Regions from separate parts of the Homo sapiens genome. Here region 1 is linked to region 2. The links are contacts of gene promoters, found by promoter capture Hi-C in blood cells and fetal thymus (Javierre and others, 2016). All regions are on one chromosome and are shown on one strand. The core of a region is centred on a gene start or on the middle of the fragment in contact, and the rest is flanking DNA. Distances in the headings are between cores, read along the strand shown. Region 1 holds the start of PSMD6-AS1 (PSMD6 antisense RNA 1). Region 2 overlaps LRIG1 (leucine rich repeats and immunoglobulin like domains 1).

Region 1 (2,943 bases), core at 340-2,839, 2.5 Mb before region 2:
CCGTATTTTACTGACGTATTTTACTGATGAGGCAGTCAGGAGCTGAACCTAGCTGAACCCAGCTGCAACCTTACCCTATAAACCAGATTTTCATTAATGAATAATTCAAGTGACATTATTTTAACATAAGTGGACCCGATTCTAGAAGGCCTATGTGTTTAAGAAAAAAATAAATGGAAAGAAACAACAATGCAGTATTTATTTTATACAGCTGACCTGGGCACATTGTGAAGTAAGCTATAAAAATTCCAAATAATTATCTCTAAAGCAAATCCTTTGTTAGTTACATGGCTTTACATATTAATTACTCTGGAAAGTTTTTGAACTCTGTTTAGTAGCAGATCTCCTTTCTTGATAGTTTCTTGGTACTGCCAGTTCTTGCTATCAGGTCTATAAATAAATTCAAGAAAAAATGAATTATTTACCAGTCACATTATTCCATGACAATAGTTGACCTACTTTTAAAATTTAGGAATGCCCCTTATTCTGAGAAATGAGAGTACCTGTTGGTTTCTACTATTTCATTCACTTTATCTATTTTGCAGTGTAGTCTCCCGGCAGCAATAAACCTGGACAGTTCCCTAATTTAGAGACAAAAAATAACAGAATTAGCTTTATAGAAAATTCTTAGAAAAATGCAAACGGCATTAAAATACTGTCTTAAATTTGTAACAAACATTTAGCTTCCCTTCAAGCTTGTTATTGCACATGCAGTAGTTGACGTTGTCCCTCCTATACTGCAGGCTTTAAGTCATCATCTACTAGAATAAACATGATCCTAGAAGTTCATATTCAGATAGATAGAAAGTAGATCAAACAATGAAACCATATGTACTCAGAGAAAAACTGTAGGTTAGGAAAAATTAGGGACCAAAACTGATAAAAACAGTAAACTGTTTCAAACAAAAGACCTAAAACAAAATTATGGAACACAGCCCATCAGTAAACATGTCAACAGCAATAGTATTAACATGTCAACAGCAATAGTATTTACTAAAACAACGACCCTTTCCCTCTCTAACATATCTTAGTCTAAACAAGTGGAAGGGAAGGGGAGAAATGATGTAGAATTATTGCTTTGCCCATTTTAAAAAAGGGGATTTCATCTAAAATGTAACTTTTTAAGGGAGAAAAAAAGAATAAAGAATCCATGACAACCCAGATTTGAAATTCTTAGGTATCACAGAAATTTAAAACAAGGCCTTTTTAGGTAACAACAACTAGAGCTCAGTGGTACAACCTTTGCCTCTCAAGCTGGTCTTAGAACATGAAGGGAAAAAAAAAAAACTGAACAAATACTACCTGAATTCAACTACTACCTGAAAGGTACCAGCTGCCTTGCATTCACTTGTCATCAAGATGACTTAAGGAATACTGCGGTGTGTGCCCCTAACTAATGAAGGCTTTATCTCCACATTACAGTTACGATACTGAAGAGACGTAACCTGACCAAGGCCACAGAGCTGGAAAAAGAAGCAAAGCCAAGCCGTTTTTCTCATGCACTGCTCACAACAAGCCCCTCCTTCCACTGACTCATGAAAAACACACTCATAATGCCCAGCCCGCACCCTAATGAACAGCCCTCTTAAGAGTGGTCATCAGACTTCAATTTCACAGACTAGAATTGAGAAATGGAACAAAACCTTGGGATACCAGCCTTCCATTTTGGTAGGGATCATTTAAAAAATGGTAGGGATCATTTAAAAAATGTGTTGGTGTCTGAAACTTACTTTGAAGTGGTTAAAAAACATAAAATGTATAGATTGTAACAAGCAAATATGTTAAAATGTACTGTACAATTCTTTCTTTACAATTTTATGGATGTTCGAAATTTAAAAAATACTAGAAAGAGAATGGTCTTATTTAAAAGAAATGCATCTTCATTTAAAGTTTCCACTGCAGACCATTGAAAACACCATCATCAACATTTAAAAACACCTACATGTGGGAGCCACTGATCTAGATGCCATCTGGACATCCCATATTGAGTATGTCTCCTACCCAACTCTACTCTCACCACCCTCGTCCACGCCACGGTAACATCTCCTCTAAGAGCTACTAAACAGCACAACTGGTCCTCTCTGCCACCTTACTCTATTTCTTATATAAAGACACTGCATAGGACCATGTAACTTGGGCTCTAAATCTTCCAATGGCTCCCTATCAAACTTACTTAAAACTCAAGCTCCATCCCATGACCTACAAGGCCCTACACAAATCATTACCTACCTAACTCTCCATATATTATCCTCAAAATCTCCTACCACTCCAACTATGCTGGAGCCACCCTGACATTTTCTGTTCCTACAACATCCAAGCTTATTCCTGGCTCAAAGCCTTAGCCTTTTCTATTCCCTTTTCTGCACGCAGAAGGACTCCATATGGCTGACTCCTCTCAATTCAAATCTCAGAGCAAACCTCACCTCCTTAAGCATGCCGTACGTAAGGATAGCATTTTCTCATCTCCATAGGTTCATTTCTATATGTGAAATTACGTTTTATATTTATTTGCTTCCTTGCCATCTCTTCCCTACTACTACAATGAAAGTGTGAAAAGGGAGCTGTAAAACAATACCAAACATATAGTAATGAATGGCTCATTAAGTATTTATTTGTTTAATCACTGATGCAAGTACTAAAAGTCCCACATTTAACAACCAATCTGACCAGAATTGCAGCAGCAACCTAAAAACTGGAAGGAATTATCAGAGGGAATATGACCAACTGTAAATATCAGATCTAAGAGTCATTACCGTAGCTGCAGTGTGGTCTACAAAGAAGTAACAGAAGACAACTTTTGATAACAACTGGTCTAATGACCTTTAACAAATCACTTAGCCTCACTACAACTCATCTTCCCATCTGTTAATGCAAGGGGCAGACATGACATGAGGAAGGCAGAGGCAACAGGATACGAATGTTTTGATAATACTGAGGAAAAAA
Region 2 (2,856 bases), core at 163-2,662:
AGTCTCCTGCCATAGAAGCTTCTATCAATTTACATAGTTACTTGGGCTGGGTCCACAGAGGGCAGGGTAACCTGTCCTTAGTGTTCTCACAGCTCCCTCTGGTCAAGGAAAGCAGTCTTTCTCTCTGCCAGCAGCAAAGAGGGAGAAAAGCTACCTTGGCCTGGTCATCCTTTTTGTCAAAGCAGAGGCCTGAGCAAAGTAAGAGCTCAAGCAACCGAAACCAGCTGCCTGGCGAGGGCTCAGCATAAACTGAGCAGAATAACCACAAGGGGAAGGGTGTCTAGACAGCCTCGGTCTATGGAAGAAGCCACCCTCCCCTGCAGTGTCAACTCTGGAAAAGCAGGCTCCAAAACGCGGCTCCAGCAAAAGAGCAGATGAGAGACCATGTCAACAGCTGGGAAGGGCACCGCGGGCTCCCTCGCCAAACGCAACACAGAGGAGAGCGCCTGAGCCTGGCCCACCTGCCAAGGACAGCCACCAGCAATCCAGCAGGGACGAGGCGCCCGAGGACCTCATGTGGGGACAGTTCACATGCACTGCTTTAACTACAAAGCCACTTCAGTGACAATTCTTGCATATGGGACTTTTCCAAAATTCAGAGAGACCAAAAAGACCGCCAATTCTAAATGTGGCAGGTAAACAGCCTGTCATCTTTTCAACTTCGGTTCTATTTGTTTCTTCTTTCTTTCCATTCTTCTAAGTTTCTCAACACTTAAGAGACTTTGGTGGAGGGTGGTGAGGGGTATAGGAAGCTACTAAACAAGCAAGGTATATTCAGGAAATACACAGATGAAGCCTGGGAGGTCTGAATTATTCTATCTGGCAGAGGTATTTCCACAGGACATACAGGACTCTACAGAATGAATGCCACTATCTCTATCTACACTGGTATCTGTCACGAGCATTTAATGTGTCACAGGCTTCACACTAGATTCTGGGAATACAATGGTGGATTGGAAACAAAGCCAGTCACTGCATTCAGGGAGCTTACAGACTAATGGGGTAGTCAGAAACGAATCAAACATTCACACAAAACTTCTATACATAGCACTGCAGAATCCTCACGATGGGAATCTAACTTAAAGGGAACGTCAGCCATGGTTTCTATGGGGAGAAACGTTTAAGACAGATGAACAGAAATCTGCAAGGCGAAGAGGGAAGACCCATTCTCCAGACAGAGGAAATGGTGGGTGAGGGACATGGGACATGGTGGTATTTAAAAAGTCTTTTTAAAAAGCCCCACGTGGTGGCTGGGACAGGTGGGGCCAGGTAAGAAGCGCGATGAGGGGCAGGTGGACAGTAACAGCTTTAAACAATGGGATTCATGTGCTCCAATTTGCAACTCTGCAAAGACCCCTACAGCTGGGGGCAAGGGGTTGCAAACAGATGTGAGTAAAAAGCTCTCTCCTCCCTCTAAAGTCTGCATAACAAAGTGAAATAGTAATGACAAAAAAAATTTAAGATAAAATTTATACTACAGGCTAGGCATGGTGGCTCACACCTGTAATCCCAGCATTTTGGGAGGCCGAGGCCAGCGATTGCTTGAGCCCAGGTGTTCGAGACCAGCCTAGGCAACATGATGAAACCCTGTCTCTACCCCCAAAAAATACAAAAATTAGCCAGGCATGGTGGTGCACACCTGTAGCCTCAGCTGCTCAGGAGGCTGAGGTGGGAAAATTGCTTGAACCTGTGAGGCAAAGGTTGCAGTGAGTCAAGATCACACCACTGTACTCCAACCTGGGTGACAGATTAAGACCCTCTCAAAAAAAAAAAAAAAAGGAAAAATTATCATACAAAATTATTGATAAATTCCACCTTTCTCCTTCCATCTTGCTGCTACATTCCTTTTCTTTTGAATGAAGGGTGGGGGCAGTGGGTCACTGGCGGCCACAGCACTCTCCCAGGACTACGTACATCTTACAGAGCCACAAATCCAAGGCATGCCAAAGATTTCAGGCGGTGCATAAACTCCATCAGCAGGCTAAACTGTTTATATGTTCTTGAGTTAAAAATACACCACTCGGGTCAGCGTTAACACCAGGGCCTTATCACCAAGGCTGTCTGTGAGCTGGTTACACAAGGCTGGACCATGACTCGCCCATCTTTTAGATGTGTCTCAGTCTGCAAATTATCTAACGATTCATCAGTGAGATGATCATAAAGCCAACAAATATACACGCATTTGAGAAAAACACTTTCCAAACCCAAGGATACTTTACTGTTTATAAATAGTTTACTTTTTTTGATCCCCAAGCATATAATATTCGCAGTTGCTCCAGAAACCAAAGGAACATGGAACAGGAACACAAACCACAACCTAACAGAAACAATAAACAACAGATGGCAAAACATATGTGCATGTTACCACCCCCTTTACCAAACAGGCAAACCAAAAATGGATCTGACACACACGCCTACCAACAAAGAAACACGCTCTTCAAGATCACATTCAAGACACCATGTATAGAGCACCAGCTGTACAGCCAGAACTACACTAGGTGCTTCAAGCCACCAAAGACCAATCGGCCTCCAGGAATTCAGAGACGTCAAAGGGAGGCCAGAAAGAAGGCAGTGCTAGTCTTACCGTATTTTCTTCTAAACATGTACACGCAGGTCTGAATTCTAACTGGCAAGTGCTAGACTCTAAACAAGTCATTCAACTACTCTGGGCCTCATGTATACAACAGAGACAATATTTTTCATAGAGTTAAGATGGTGATGATCAGTTAACACAGATATATCCTGCTGCAGAAAGGTACACTATTATTGCGACAGTTATAATAATAACATTATAGCTACCCTTCCTCAAGCTTCTGCTTGTGTGTTAGGCCCTGTGTTAAATATTTCATTTTTTTC

What was found. Contacts are between HindIII fragments. The CHiCAGO score rates a contact against its expected background, and 5 or more counts as called.
Region 1: the fragment with the promoter of PSMD6-AS1 here is called in contact with a fragment that was not itself captured in region 2 in 1 of 17 cell types (activated CD4 T cells); the score reaches 7.4 in activated CD4 T cells.

The regions. Positions count from the first base shown.
Region 1 is chr3:64,010,375-64,013,317 of GRCh38, forward strand. PSMD6-AS1 (PSMD6 antisense RNA 1) reads left to right here and starts at 1,590. Exons shown (of 2, transcript NR_189168.1): 1 at 1,590-1,668. It overlaps PSMD6 (proteasome 26S subunit, non-ATPase 6), which reads right to left. Exons shown (of 8, transcript NM_014814.3): 7 at 504-581; 8 at 177-390. The coding sequence ends at 294. PSMD6-AS2 (PSMD6 antisense RNA 2) reads left to right here. Exons shown (of 3, transcript NR_038286.1): 3 at 1,423-1,869. The HindIII fragment of the contact is 1,623 bases long and covers 694-2,316 here.
Region 2 is chr3:66,483,394-66,486,249 of GRCh38, forward strand. All of the region lies in intron 1 of LRIG1 (leucine rich repeats and immunoglobulin like domains 1), which reads right to left. Among named protein-coding and RNA genes, the nearest start is that of LRIG1, 16 kb to the right of the region's middle. The HindIII fragment of the contact is 2,792 bases long and covers 17-2,808 here.